5 separate regions of the Homo sapiens genome follow, and regions 2, 3, 4 and 5 are each linked to region 1. The links are contacts of gene promoters, found by promoter capture Hi-C in blood cells and fetal thymus (Javierre and others, 2016). All regions are on one chromosome and are shown on one strand. Each heading gives the region's core, a stretch centred on a gene start or on the middle of the fragment in contact. The rest is flanking DNA. Distances are from core to core; before and after follow the strand shown. Region 1 holds the start of HIF3A (hypoxia inducible factor 3 subunit alpha). Region 2 holds the start of PGLYRP1 (peptidoglycan recognition protein 1). Region 3 holds the start of DACT3-AS1 (DACT3 antisense RNA 1). Region 4 overlaps NOVA2 (NOVA alternative splicing regulator 2). Region 5 has its middle 12 kb from the start of NANOS2.

Evidence for each region. Contacts are between HindIII fragments. The CHiCAGO score rates a contact against its expected background, and 5 or more counts as called.
Region 2: the fragment with the promoter of PGLYRP1 here is called in contact with the fragment with the promoter of HIF3A in region 1 in 3 of 17 cell types (M2 macrophages, M1 macrophages and M0 macrophages); the score reaches 8.8 in M2 macrophages.
Region 3: the fragment with the promoter of DACT3-AS1 here is called in contact with the fragment with the promoter of HIF3A in region 1 in 2 of 17 cell types (erythroblasts and M0 macrophages); the score reaches 6.5 in erythroblasts.
Region 4: a fragment that was not itself captured here is called in contact with the fragment with the promoter of HIF3A in region 1 in 2 of 17 cell types (M1 macrophages and M2 macrophages); the score reaches 8.7 in M1 macrophages.
Region 5: a fragment that was not itself captured here is called in contact with the fragment with the promoter of HIF3A in region 1 in 1 of 17 cell types (M1 macrophages); the score reaches 5.4 in M1 macrophages.

Annotation. Positions count from the first base shown.
Region 1 is chr19:46,295,705-46,298,404 of GRCh38, reverse strand. HIF3A (hypoxia inducible factor 3 subunit alpha) reads right to left here and starts at 1,363. Exons shown (of 15, transcript NM_152795.4): 1 at 1,303-1,363. The coding sequence starts at 1,328. The HindIII fragment of the contact is 1,538 bases long and covers 540-2,077 here.
Region 2 is chr19:46,021,792-46,024,491 of GRCh38, reverse strand. PGLYRP1 (peptidoglycan recognition protein 1) reads left to right here and starts at 1,439. Exons shown (of 3, transcript NM_005091.3): 1 at 1,439-1,757. The coding sequence starts at 1,471. RefSeq lists an enhancer at 1,946-2,700. The HindIII fragment of the contact is 5,413 bases long and covers 336-2,700 here.
Region 3 is chr19:46,658,952-46,661,651 of GRCh38, reverse strand. DACT3-AS1 (DACT3 antisense RNA 1) reads right to left here and starts at 1,288. Exons shown (of 3, transcript NR_040042.1): 1 at 1,244-1,288. DACT3 (dishevelled binding antagonist of beta catenin 3) reads left to right here and starts at 470. Exons shown (of 4, transcript NM_145056.3): 1 at 470-836. The coding sequence starts at 588. RefSeq lists silencers at 93-212, 423-672. The HindIII fragment of the contact is 2,055 bases long and covers 378-2,432 here.
Region 4 is chr19:45,943,657-45,946,356 of GRCh38, reverse strand. All of the region lies in intron 3 of NOVA2 (NOVA alternative splicing regulator 2), which reads left to right. Among named protein-coding and RNA genes, the nearest start is that of NOVA2, 29 kb to the left of the region's middle. The HindIII fragment of the contact is 6,111 bases long and covers 1-2,700 here.
Region 5 is chr19:45,925,145-45,927,844 of GRCh38, reverse strand. No RefSeq gene overlaps it. Among named protein-coding and RNA genes, the nearest start is that of NANOS2, 12 kb to the right of the region's middle. RefSeq lists enhancers at 4-73, 379-879. The HindIII fragment of the contact is 2,727 bases long and covers 1-2,660 here.

The DNA.
Region 1 (2,700 bases), core at 114-2,613:
GACTCCACAGGAAAGGGCCGGCCTTGGGTGGGGAGGGGGGGCACCCGAGCTCAGCCAAGAGGGGCCCCCACCCAGCCAGGAGGGGGCGCTGAGAGGGGCGGAACGACAGCTGGCCCAAAAGGGGTGGGATAGAGTTCCTTGTTAGGCCCAGAGCCAGGGCCTGGAATAGAGTAGGGGACAGGGGAGAGGATGGGGGCGGTTAGAAACATGGGGTGTGCATGGATCCAATCAGGCCTGAGAAGCCAGGGAGGAGGGAAGGGGGTGAGGCTTACTGGGTGCCTCACATTGGACAGGGAAAGCTGAGGACCTAGAACATTTTCCAGGGTCCCATGGGAACATGGCCAGATAAAACCCCCCGGCAGCGGCCCCAGGGCACAGGTTCCCCTGTGTTCCAGCAGAGCTGCACCTGCTGGGCAAGTGAACCCAGAAACCCACCCTCTGCCCGGGATGACCCCATCTGAGTACTGCGGCAGGGGGCGTTCCCATCACAGCCTGCAGGCTCACAGCACCCTGCCATGGAGTCTCCCCAAAATAAAGCTTGGATGAGGCTCCCCTGTCTCTCAGGATGGGGGTGCAGGGGTGAGATGAGGGGCTGGACTTTGGGAAGTGGGTCCAGCTTGTTTCCCTGTTATTTAAGGGGGTGACTCTGGCTTTTGAAAGGATACAAAAAGTCTCTTGGGAAGGGTCCCAGACGGCTTCTGAAAGGGGCTCCCCTCTGCCCATTTCTAGGGAAACCCAATGTTTAGGAGACTGTGTCAGGAAGCATACTATTAGAGGAGATCTCTCCTCTCTTGAACTCAGGAGCTGAATGCCATTCCAAGGGACTCCCTATATGTGGGAAGGCTCCATTTAGGGGTATCCCATATCACCTAGGATCCCAGGCACCTGGTGGCAAAGAATACCCTCAATTTTGGGGGGTTCAGAGGCCAGAGGGATCAATATGTGGAGGGCGAATATCTCCCGCAGAAGCCTGGGGACTGCTCAAATGCAATCACCCCTAATTTATCAGGAATCCCAAGTTCCACCCCCAACCAGGAGGGTAAATGAGCCTTGGGTAGCGAGAAATCGGGAACCCCGAAGCCGCTCTTGGCCAGAGGGGCGGGGCAGCCAGAGACGTAGGGAATCCCCCACCCCTGCAGTCCCTAAGGGTGGAGAGTGCGGTGGGGATGTGCCTCCAACTGCGCGCCCCGGGGCGTTCTTGGCTCGCACCCGCGAACCCCACCCCCCCCAACAATCCAGCTCAGGGGTCTCCAGGAGGAGAGCCCCCCAATTCCCAGAACTCCTGCCCCCGAACTTCAGTACCTTGCGCGCTGCAGCCCCAGCGCCATGGCTCGCCAGTCGCCGCTCCGGAGCCCTCGGAGGCCCCTAGCCCCCTCCCCGGCCTTGCGAGCCCCCTCCCCAGCTCCTCCCCACGCCGCGCGGTTGGCTGTGCCACGCCAGGCCTGAGGCTCTGATTGGGCAACGGTATGTCACTCCTGAAAAGGAGGCGGAACCAGAGGGAAAGACTTGGAAAGGCAAGGGGGGGATACCGTGTAATACACACCCCCCAACCACGCCCCTCGCCGCGGACTTCCTCGGCAGTGTATCCCGCACCGTCGGCTGAACGCGCCTTCTCTAGTCCAGCCTCTGAAGTGCCAACGCCAGTACTCTTCTGAACCCACTCAGTTCACTCTGCTCTCTGGACCCCAGTCCCCAGCCTCTAACCCCCACCTCTTCTCACCTTTCCATTTCCTAACCCCAGTTGAGCCCCTCTGACCTCCAATCCCACCCCTTCCAAACCCCTAGCCCTGCCTTCTCTATCCCTTCTAAGGTATTCACAGAGTACCCCACATCTCCTCCCCACCCCCCAACTCCCAACCCCACCCCAGTTCCACAATCCTTGGCCCTCTGGCACCTACCCTTCTCTCTCTCTCCCCAGCCCCTCCCTGCCACCCCAGTCCCATACCCCACTTCGCCCCCATTCCTCCAGTCTGCACCCTCTGCACCCCAGCTTACCTTCCCTACCCCCTCTACTCCACCCTAACCTCTTGGCCTCTCTGACTCCCTTTTCAGGTTCCCATTGATGAATAATTAAGCTTATGTCAAGTAAATATGTTTTAACTCAATCACACCTACTTCAAAAAAGAGCCGAGAAATGTATTTTTTTTTAACTAGTCGACTATGAAGGGAGAAGTACAAAGGTACCAAGCAAGGGTGAAAGCATTACAGTTGGATAAGGAACAGAGTGTGTGTGTGTGTGTGTGTGTGTGTGTGTGTTGGACCACTATTCTGGATTTGGTTGGCAGGGAAGAGGATACTACAGCAGAAGTGGCCTTGTTGAACCTTGAACTTGCCAGGCAAGTTGCTCACCTTAGGGCCTTTGCACTTGCTGTTCCCACAGCTTAGCACACTCTTCCTCCAGGAATCCACACGGCTCCCCGGCTCACGCCAGTTCCCCACTCTGTTTTCTTTTGGGAAACCACTTCTCTGTCCTCTTCATCTATTTAATTTGAATAGGGCTTGGCCACTGCTCTGCCTTCACCAGCTCCAGGGATGGACATAGGATCCAAACCTGGCTAATCAGTTGAGTCTGCTTCCCTGGCCACAGTGATTGGTTCAGGGAAGGCATGTTACCTAATTTAGCCCAATGAGAATCAACCCTGAGACATTTGCTGAAACCATTAGGAAAGAGGATTTTCTATGTCTGCTGGAATTGCTGGG
Region 2 (2,700 bases), core at 190-2,689, 270 kb after region 1:
AAAACCTTCAAAAACTAAAAGATCCACAATGCTGAACTGATACTATAGCATATTGTGCAACTATTATAAAGAATAAATTAGAATTAGATGTACTGCCCTGGTGAGATGCCCATGAAATATTAGGTGACAAAAGGTAAATTGATGCACATGGTTTTGATTTTTTTTTTTAATGTCCTTATATAAGTTTGTAGGGAGGAGAATACGGTTTATAACTCTGCAGGCAGAAAGCCTGTAGCCAAACCCTGGCTTCATCACCTCCTGTATGTGATCATCCCCCCGGGCCTCAGTTCCGTCAACTGTAAGAGGGGTTAATAATAACATGGATCTGGCAAGCTTGTCGTTGAGTATATGATAATTTCTGAAAAGTGCTACAGATGCCTGGTGCACAATTCAGTAACAGCATGAGTACAATGTATATGAGAAGGCAGAACACAGAAGATGAAAACACACCACACAGGTCAGGCACGGTGGCTCATGCCTATAGTAATCCCAGCACTCTGGAACACTGGCAGGTGGCTCACCTGAGGTCAGGAGTTCGACACCAGCCAGGCCAACATGGCAAAACCCCGTCTCTACCAAAAATATAAAAATTAGCTGGGCGTGGTGGTGTGCACTTGTAATCCCAGCTACTCAGGAGGCTGAGGCAGGAGAATCACTTGAAGCCAGGAGGCGGAGGTTGCAGTGGCCCAAGATCGCACCATTGCACTCCAGCCTGGGTGACAAGAGCAAAACTCCATCTCAAAAAAAAAAAAAAAAAAAAAGGAAAATATTATTTATAAAATAGAAAATTAAAAAAAAAATTTTAAATACACATTTTTAAAAACCACTTGCAGGCTCTCACACACTGCATATCCAGGATTCACATGCAGGCAGCCTGGCTCTAGACGCGGGGCTCCAGTGCCTCCGGTGTCTCAGCCCGTGACTTCCCTGCTCTCAACCTCAGTTTACTCCACTGTGAAATGGACTTCCAGATACTCACCTCTTGAGTTTGCTGCAAGCGTAAATGGCATCAGGCTTGGACCTGGGGGAAGGAAGTGTTTTTAAAATGGGTAGCTTTGTTACCTCAGTCCTTGCGGGGAGAAGATGTGCCAATGCCCCGGGCCTCTGCGATGTAAGTTCCTGTTGAGTTGTTCAATGTTCCACTGAGAGGAGAGACAAGCAGGACCGGGATCCCGGCCCCGGGTCTTCCAGAAACGGCGGGGCGAAGCGCCCAGGGGCCTGTGCGTCCCTCCCTGCTGAGCGAGGGGGCCTGTCATTGCCGTGGGCGTGACCCAGACCCCAACCACAGTGCATCCCGCCCTGGCCCAGCCAGAGAAGGAAGCTGAGTCTGGGGTCTGCTGGGCCAGCAGGAAGTCCCAGCAGGGTGTGAAGCAAGACTTTCCGGGCCACTCCTGGAATCCCCCAGCAGATAAAGGCGGCCCCTCCACCGGGCGCTCCTAGCGGTCTCCCGGACCCTGCCGCCCTGCCACTATGTCCCGCCGCTCTATGCTGCTTGCCTGGGCTCTCCCCAGCCTCCTTCGACTCGGAGCGGCTCAGGAGACAGAAGACCCGGCCTGCTGCAGCCCCATAGTGCCCCGGAACGAGTGGAAGGCCCTGGCATCAGAGTGCGCCCAGCACCTGAGCCTGCCCTTACGCTATGTGGTGGTATCGCACACGGCGGGCAGCAGCTGCAACACCCCCGCCTCGTGCCAGCAGCAGGCCCGGAATGTGCAGCACTACCACATGAAGACACTGGGCTGGTGCGACGTGGGCTACAAGTGAGTGTGGCAGGGGGGCACGGGCTGGACTGGGGATCCCAGAGGCAAAGGTGTGCAAGTGCCCGCCAGCGGGACCATTTCTAGGCCTGGTGCTGAGGCCACCTGGCTGACACCCTGAGCAGCTTACTGAACCTCACAAGGTCATTTCTTCCTCGGGTCACCACGTGGGCCGGGGCAGGTGCTCACAGCACAAAGATGCGTGAGAAGGGGGGATGGGCTGAAATCCAAGCCCCGCTCCCGCTCCCGGGAAGAAGGGGCAGGCTTTGCCTAACACACACCAAGGTGTCCGCGACGCCTTATGAAGGCGCCCCTTCCTGATGCCTGGTGCCTTTGTTAGGAGGCGGAAAACCAGGCTGACTCAGTGCGGAGCTGGGTTCCAGGGTCAGCTCATCTTATTGCTGGCTGAGGCCTGGGGCGGGTCCTCCCGGCTTCAGCTTCCTCCTCGGCAAAGTCAATGGAATCGCGGCCCATCTGCTCCTTATATGAGCCAATACAGGCAAAGCACCTAGGAACTGCCTGGCACACGGGGGCCCGCAAAGCCACGGGCTATTACCATTAGGCACCTACTATGTGCCAGGCAGTGTGCCAGATGTGGCATGGAGAACGGTGCCACTCTAGCCTCCTGGGGTTGAAAGACCAGCAGGGAGAAACAAGCCAAGGCCACAGGTGAATTCAGACGGTGATAGAGGCGATGGATAAAAGGAAAGAGGTGAGGGAGGGTGACCTCAGGCTGGGACCAGACCCACACAGGCTCCTTGGAAGGGTGGGGCAAGGGAAAGCCTCCCTGAGAGTGGCTGCCTTGGCTCTGGGATGGGGGAGCAGACAGAGGCCTGCAGGTGGCAGGGGGTGCTGGGGGCAAAGCCAACGGGGTTGAGTGGGCGGGTCCTGTGGGAAGGACAGGGTGGCTGAACACAGCCGGGCGAGCGGAATGAAATGAGGAAAG
Region 3 (2,700 bases), core at 39-2,538, 360 kb before region 1:
ACCCCCTAACCCTTTTCTCCCCCTGCGCAGCCTCAGAAGCTGAAGGTTGGGCGGGGTGGAGGGGTAGGAGCAGCTGCCAAACTGTCACGTGTACCCATTCCCTATTTATAGATCACCCTTCCCCTCGCGCCGGACAGTCCAATGGTAGCCAGCGCTCGCCCGCAAGAGGGTGGAACCTGCTGCAGGACCGGCCAGGCACAGACCAATGGCATTGAAGCAAGGGCGGGCTTGTTTCATTGTGACGCGTGGGGGGGCGTGGCCAGGGCCCCGAGGCAGTTGCACGGAGGGGGCGTGGCGAGCGGAGTGAGTAGGCAGTTGCGAGCATGCGTCGTGTTGGGCGGTGCGGTTGCACGCCCGAGAGTCTTCGTCAGGAAGCTTATTCGCCAATAGGCGGCTGTTGCTCGGTCGCCGGGGGCGTGGCCATGCAGATAAGGCGCGGGTGGGCGGCCCAATGGGCGGGCGCCTATGCAGATGAGACGGTGACAGCCCGGCCAGCGGGCGGGCGGGCAGGCTGCTGGGGCGGGGAGGTGGGACCGGGAGAGGGGTGGCCGCGGGGCCCGGCCGGGCTGGGGCGGGGGGCCGCAGCCATGATCCGGGCCTTCTCGTTCCCGGTGAGCCCTGAGCGGGGCCGGCTGCGGGGCTGGCTGGAGGGTAGCCTGGCCGGGCTCTGCGAGTTACATTGGCTCCGGGAGAGGCAGGAGTACCGCGTGCAGCAGGCGCTGCGGCTGGCCCAGCCCGGAATGGGGGGCGCCGAGGCCGAGGACGAGGAGGACGCCGATGAGGATGAAGATGCGGCGGCGGCGCGCCGGGCCGCAGCGGCCCTGGAGGAGCAGCTGGTAAGGGGCTGCCTGTCCGTCCGTCCCTCCACCCCCGTCTGTGTCTGTCTGTCTCGGTTGGATGCTCAGACACCGGGCGGGGGTTGGGGACCCGGGTAGGCAGGGAGTGAGAAAGGACAGGGGGTGGGGCTGGCGACCCCGGAGTTCCGGCGGCGGGCCGGACCTGGCCTCCCCGCCCCCAAATCGGGGGAGGGGGAACTGCATCGCCCCCACTGGGGCCTCGTGAGAAACACAGGCCCTGTCTCTTACACCCCTTCCCCAAAGAAAATCCTTGTGGGCGCCAAGTATGTGTCAAACCCGAGACCGGGTACTTTGCAGGCGTTGTCTTCTTGCGGCTTGGGAAACGGGGTGATAGTCCCCATTTAACAGAGAAACAAATTGAGGCTCAGAGAGAGCAAGCGACTCACCCAAGGTGACACAGCCAGGCTCCAAACATGCCCTTCTCTGGGCCCCGCCACCAGGGCTCCATCTTCCCTAAGTCCTGGTGTGCTTGGAGATCTCTGGAGGGGGCGGGGTGGGAGGAGGGGAATCTCAGGGCCTCCAGAGGGAGGGACCACTGCTGAGAGGAAGCTCACAGTCCCTGAGGACCCCCCACTGGGATCTTGACCCTTTGGTGACACTTCCCCTGCTTCCTACCTGGCCCCAGCTCTCCTTGACCCAAGGGGAGGCAGGTCGAGGCAGCGCCTGGGGGAGACTTCTGGACTCTGGGTGTTCTCATGGTGGAAGATGGGCAGAGGTCTCCGGAATGACTTGAGGACGCCCCATGCCTCTCCCCTTTCTATGTCATTCCTTGAGTCTCCCGATCTCGTCCTGGGTTCTGTCACTCTCTCCGTCCTGCCACATCCCTGTGACTTTCTGTGTCTGCTTCTCTTTCTTCATCCTGTCTCTCTGTCTCTGTGATCTCTGTGTCCCTCTGCATCTGTCTCCTTGGCCTTCCCTTCCTGCCTGTCTGCACCTCGCTCTCTTCTTCTTGCCCGACGTCCCAGGCTCAGTCTGTCTTCCCCTCCCCCCAGCCCGCACACCCTGGCTCCACGGCAGATCCCCATCCCCAAGCCTGTGTGTGGCCAGAGCTTCCCGTTTCGGGAAACCTGAGCCGAGGTGGCAGTGGAGGGGGCTCTCCCCGCCGCTGACCTCGACCGCCCCCTCCCCAGATGGGGAGTGGGGAGGAAGACTGAAGCCAGGCTCCCGGGGCTGCACGCCCGGCCCCTCCCCCTCTCAGGAGTGGGACCCCCCTGCACATTCTTTTCTGGAAACAGAAACAGCTGTGGGAGGCCCCACCCCCTCCCAAAGTTAGAGACGGATTGTGGGGGCCTTCGCTAGCTCCCCCCACCCCAAGCTGGCTCGGCTTGGAAGGCGCCTTCCATCCTGACAAGGAGAATGCGAGGCATGAGGTTGGGGTAGCTGTGGGTAGCTGTGTCCTCTCCCCCTCTGCCCTCGGTCTCTCCCCTTTTCACCCTTCACCTTCCCCATCTCTGCCCTTCAGTCTCCCTCTCCTCGGTCCCTCTGTCCCCTCCTCCCCCTCAGCCCTCTGTCCTCCCGGCACGAGCTGATAGTGGAGAGGCCTGTCCCCCCACCCCCCAGTCTCTAGGCAAAGCTTGTCCCAGCATCAGGGAGGAGGCGGTGGCAGGCGGGGGGAGGAGGAGGAGCAGAGAAGCGCTAAATATAAACTTCTCTAGTGCTGGGGGTTCCTGGGTCCCTCTGAAGAGTGGATTAGGGCTTCTTCTGATCCCCCAACCCTTGTCTTATGACTTATCCCCCCACCCCCAGCCCCTGCCAGGAATACACTTCCTTCAAGGCAAGAAAGACTGAAGCCAGACTTGATTACTTTCTAATAGGAATGATGGGGATACCAGGTAAAGATCAG
Region 4 (2,700 bases), core at 127-2,626, 350 kb after region 1:
GTTACACCTCATTAGTCTCTTTTACTCTAGAATAAATGAAGATTCCTTTTTCTTGTTCACAAGGTCTGGCTCGATCACCCAGACTGGAGTGTAGTGATGCCATTTTGGCTCACTTCAACCTCCACCTCTTGGGCTCAAGCCATCCTCCCTTCTCAGACTCCCAAGTAGCTGGGACTACAGGCATGCACCACCACACTCAGTTAATTTTTGTACTTTTTGTAGAAATGAGGTTTTGCCATGTTGTCCAGGCTGTACAACTTGTGAGCTCAAGCGATCTGCCCACCTCAGCGTCCCAAAGTGCTGGGATTACAGGCATGAGCCACCATGCCTGGCCTTTTTTTTTTTTTTTTTTTAGATGGAGTCTCACTCTGTCATTCAGGCTGGAGGGCAGTGGCATGATCTCGGCTCACTTGAGAATCACTTGAACCCAGGAGGTGGAGGTTGCATTGAGCTGAGATGATGCCACTGCACCATAGCCTGGGTGACAGAGCAAGACTGTGTCTCAAAAAAAAAAAAAATAATAATAATAATAATAAAGTCAGGGAGACCAACAGGGAATAGAGCATGGGGAGCTCTGTCACAGCAACACCCCCTTTCTCCTACAAATATTTTGTCATGTTCACTTGACTCTCTGAAATACTATTCATATTCATATATACACATATAGACATATCTACACCCGTAAGACTTTTTGACAGCTTTATTGAGATATAATTCACATACAACTCACCCTTTTAAGGTACACGGCTCTAGGCCCAGTATGGGGGCTCATGCCTGTAATCCCAGCACTTTAGGAGGCCGAGGCCGGAGGATCACTTGAGCCCAGAAGTACAAGGCTGCAGTGAGCTCTGATCACACCACTGCACTCCAGCCTGGGTATCAGAGCAAGACCCTATTTAAAAAAAGAGAAACATAAAATACATGATAAATAAAGTGTACAGTTCATTGGCTTTTATTATAGTCACATAGTTGTACACCTATTGCCACAATCCATTTTCAAACATTTGCACTGCCTTCAAAATAAATCCTTTTTTTTTTCTTTCTTTCTTTTTTTAGAGGCAGGGTCTTGCACTGTCACCCAGGCTGGAGTGTAGTGGCACCTGTTATAGCTCACTGCAGCCTCAAACTCCTGGGCTCAAGTGATCCCTTAGACTCCTGAGTAGCTGAGACGACAGGTGCACACCACTGCATCCAGCTAATTTATTTTTATTTTTTGTAGAGATGAGGTTTCACCATCTTGCCCAGGTTGATCTCTAATTCCTGGGCTCAAGCAGTCTCTGGCCTCTGCCTCCCAAAGTGCTGGATTACAGGCATAAGCCACCGAGCCTGGCCTCCAAAAGAAATCTTGATCATCTTAGCTATGACCCCTCGATCTCCCACCTCAGCTCACCCTCTCCCTAACCCCAAGCCACCACAAATCTACTTTCTGTGTCTATAGATTTGCCTATTCTGGACATTTCTGTAAAAGGAATCACACAGTATATGGTCAACCATCAACACTTTCTAATTCCAGAAAGTATCTATTACCCAAAAGAAATCCTATGCCTGTAGGCAGTTACCCCCAATCCCCTTCCTCCCATTCCCTGGCAACCACTAATCTACCTTTTTGGCTCTGTGGATCTGCATATTCTGGACATTTATGTAAATGAACTCAGCTGTGGTCTTTTGTAACTGGCTTCTTTCACTTAGCATAATTTTTTCTAGATTCATCCACGCTATAGCATGTATCAGTACTTTGTTCATTCAACGTATTGCCAAGTAATATTCCATTGTATGGATATACCATGTTTTATTTATCCCACGAGACTTTTTTAAATAAAGAAGAAATAAAAGGAAGGTGATTTGTTATAAAACAAGATGAATTTTATTTTTTGCTTCTTTGTTGTTGTTTTTGTTTTTTGTTTTGTTTTGTTTTTGAAACAGGGTCTGCTCTGTTGCCCAGGCTGGAGTACAGTGGCACAATCACAGCTCACTGCAGCCTCAACCTCCTGGGCTCAAGTGATCCTCCCACCTCAGCCTCCCAAGTAGCTGGGACCACAGGCAGATGCCACCACACCTGGCTATTTTTTGTATTTTTACTAGAGACAGGTTTTCATCATGATGCCCAGGCTGGTCTTGAACTCCTGGGCTCAAGTGATTCACCCTGCCTCAGCTTCCCAAAGTGCCGGGATTACAGGTGTGAGTCACTGCACCCAGCCAAGGTGAATTTTAATATGTAAATAAATAGTCAGGACCACAATAGAAGGAATAATGAATTAGGCAGCTGCTCACACCTAAGCATAGCTAAGTGAGACAACTACATATGTAAAGTGATCCAGAGTATAATACTGGAGACTTAAATAATACAAATGCTGTTGCTACTGACGCCAGGTTTTCTAAAATGATGAAAACTTTTAGTGAAGTGCAGAGCAAAACAAAGCACAATCTGCTCTTGATTTACTGGTAGTTGCGTTCCTGGAAATTTCAGTAGCTCTTAAAACCATGCAAACAATACTTGGTACTTACATGTGTCATGGGGTTGGGCTCTGAGCTCAGAGATTTTTTTTATTTTGTTATTTTTATTTACTTATTTATTTTGGGGGGGATAGGGTCTCACTGTGTCAGTTGGGTTCTGGGCTCAGAGACTTTTTTTTTTTTTTGAGTCAGGGTTTCACTGTGTTGCCCAGGTTGAAGTGCAGTGGCACAATTACAGCTCACTGT
Region 5 (2,700 bases), core at 48-2,547, 370 kb after region 1:
GAAACGTAGTTTTGAGCCCTCCAGCCGCTGCAGTCGCAGGAAGGTGCGCTAGGAGAGTGGAATAGATGTTGAGAGGCGCCACACCTCCTCCACGTGGTTGCACGCCCTCTCTCTCTGTCCATCTCTGTTTTTACGTGCATGTATAATCTCACTTGCTGTCTTCGTGTGTGTTCTGTCTCCTTGGTTTGATTTTCCCCCCCATCTTTTTCACTCTCCAGAATTTGTTTTTGTTTTTGTTTAGTTTGAGACAGAGTCTCGCTCTGTCGCCCAGACTGGGGTGCAATGGCGCGATCTCGGCTCAGTGCAACCTCCGCGATTCTCCTGCCTCAGCCTCCCGAGTAGCTGGGACTACAGGCACCCACCACCACGCCCGGCTAATTTTTGTATTTTTAGTAGAGATGGGGTTTTGCCACGTTGGCCAGGCTGGTCTCGAACTCCCGACCTCAGGTGATCCACCTGCCTCGGCCTCCCAAAGTGCTGGCATTACAGGCGAGCCACCGTGCCTGGCCCCCACGCTCGTTTTATTTCAATTCTTCCATCTCTATGGCCTTCTCTGTCCTTTTTCTTGGTCACCACCTGTATGACCAGTGCCAATTCTCATAGCCCCCTGCCTCACCATTATCCTCATCCTCAGTTCCAACCTTACTATCGGGGATCTCCCTCTTGACCTTCACCCCACTCTCAGCTGAACCAGAAGCTCAGATCCCTAAGGAAGAAGAGGAGGGAGAGGTAAGACATGGGTGTCCCGTAGTTCCACAGACAAGCCAGGAACAGGACCCATGCTTTGGCATTTCTCAGCTGCTCTCCCTGCAGGTGGAAAGATCAAGCACCTCCAGGTAGGCAACGTGAACCGAAAGAGACCGGTGAGTTACTGGCTAGAGTTGGAGTGGCCACAGTGGGGGATTATGGTTTCGGTTTGGAGCAGAGTAGGGCCCTCAGTTGGCCAGAAGTAATTGACCACTCAGCTTTACTCTCCAGAAAGCTGCGGCCATCTCAACCCCATTTTCTCTTCACTGTTCTTTCTCTTAACCAATGAGCTTCCAACTGTAGGGAAATGGAGCTGCATCCTTCTCAGGAGGTACCTAGTCATTTAAAAAAATACATTTATTGGCCGGGCGCAGTGGCTCACGCCTGTAATCCCAGCACTTTGGGAGGCCAAGGCGGGTGGATCACGAGGTCAGGAGTTCAAGACTAGCCTGGCCAAGATGGTGAAACCCTGTCTCTACTGACAATACAGAAATTAGCAGAGCGCGGTGGCAGGCGCCTGTAATCCCAGCTACTCAGGAAGCTGAGGCAGGAGAATCGCTTGAACCCAGGAGGTGGAGGTTGCAGTGAGCCGAGATCGTGCCACTGCACTCCAGCCTGGAGACAGAGCGAGACTCTCTCTCAAAAAACAAACAAACAAACAAACAAAAAACAAGTACACACACACAAATGAGTACAAATAAGTGTAAAATCTGAACAACATCAGTGGATTGTATCGATGTCTATATCTTGGTTGTGGTATTGTACTACAGTTGTGGAAAATGTTACCATCAGGGAAAACTGAGGAAAGGACACGAAGATCTCCATTATTTATTATGACAACTTGTGACTTTACAATTCTCTCCAAATAAAAAGTTAAAAGAAAGCACTGATGAAATGCAAAGACAGGACATAACACCTGTAAAATGTGCAGTGTAAACAGGGTGGCTAGAAGAACACAAAAAAGGTGGTTGTTTCTTCAACGGGTTTGCTGGGAGCATATGATTGGATTTCAGTACTGTGGCCTCCAGGGCCTGGCTTAGATAGGAAGTGCAAAGAAAGACCCTCCTTTCACTAAGCTGGGACCCCAAAGTGCTTTCTGCTGAGTGAGTTCGAGCCAGACCTAAACCTGTCCCTGTCCCAACTCCAAGTCCCAACTCCAAAGGTAGCAGCATCAACACTGAGCAGAATGGGATAAGGAAGAAAAAAAAGTCCCTGAGAAGTTGTGGCTTCAGAATGGCCCAAGAACAGTGTTGACACCCCCAGTGTAGATAACTGGATGAGTCAAGGAACAAGAAACCAGAACCATGTTTGGAGAGGCTGTAACTGGAAGTGTCTGAGGGGTGCCTAACCAAAGCAAACACAGACCCTGGAATCCATGCATTCAACTCAGGCCCAGGGGAAATTCCCCAGTTAAATGCAAAGGTCGGCCGGGCGCGGTGGCTCACACCTGTAATCCCAGCACTCTGGGAGGCCGAGACAGGCGGATGACTTGAGGTTGGGAGTTCGAGACCAGCCTGGCCAACATGGTGAAACTCCGTCTCTACTAAAAATACAAAAATTAGCCAGCCGTAGTAGCACGCACCTGTAATCCCAGCTACTCCGGAGACTGAGGCAGGAGAATCGCTTGAACCCAGGAGGTGGAGGTTGTGGCGAGCCAAGATCACGCCCCTGCACTCCAGCCTGGGCAAAAGAGGGAGACTCCACTAAAAAAAAAAAAAAAAAAAAAAAAAATGCAAAGGTCAATAATCATCAGGCCGACATAATCAGGTCACAGGGAAATATGACACCAATAAGAATCAAAAGAACAGAAAAGGTGTGGCTCAGACTTTAGATGCTGGGAGATCAGACACCAGTATTAAAACAGTCATGAGTCATGGTGGCTCACACCTGTAATCACAGCACGTTGAGAAGCTTGAGTCTAGGAGTTTGAGACCAGCTTGGGCAACATGGCAA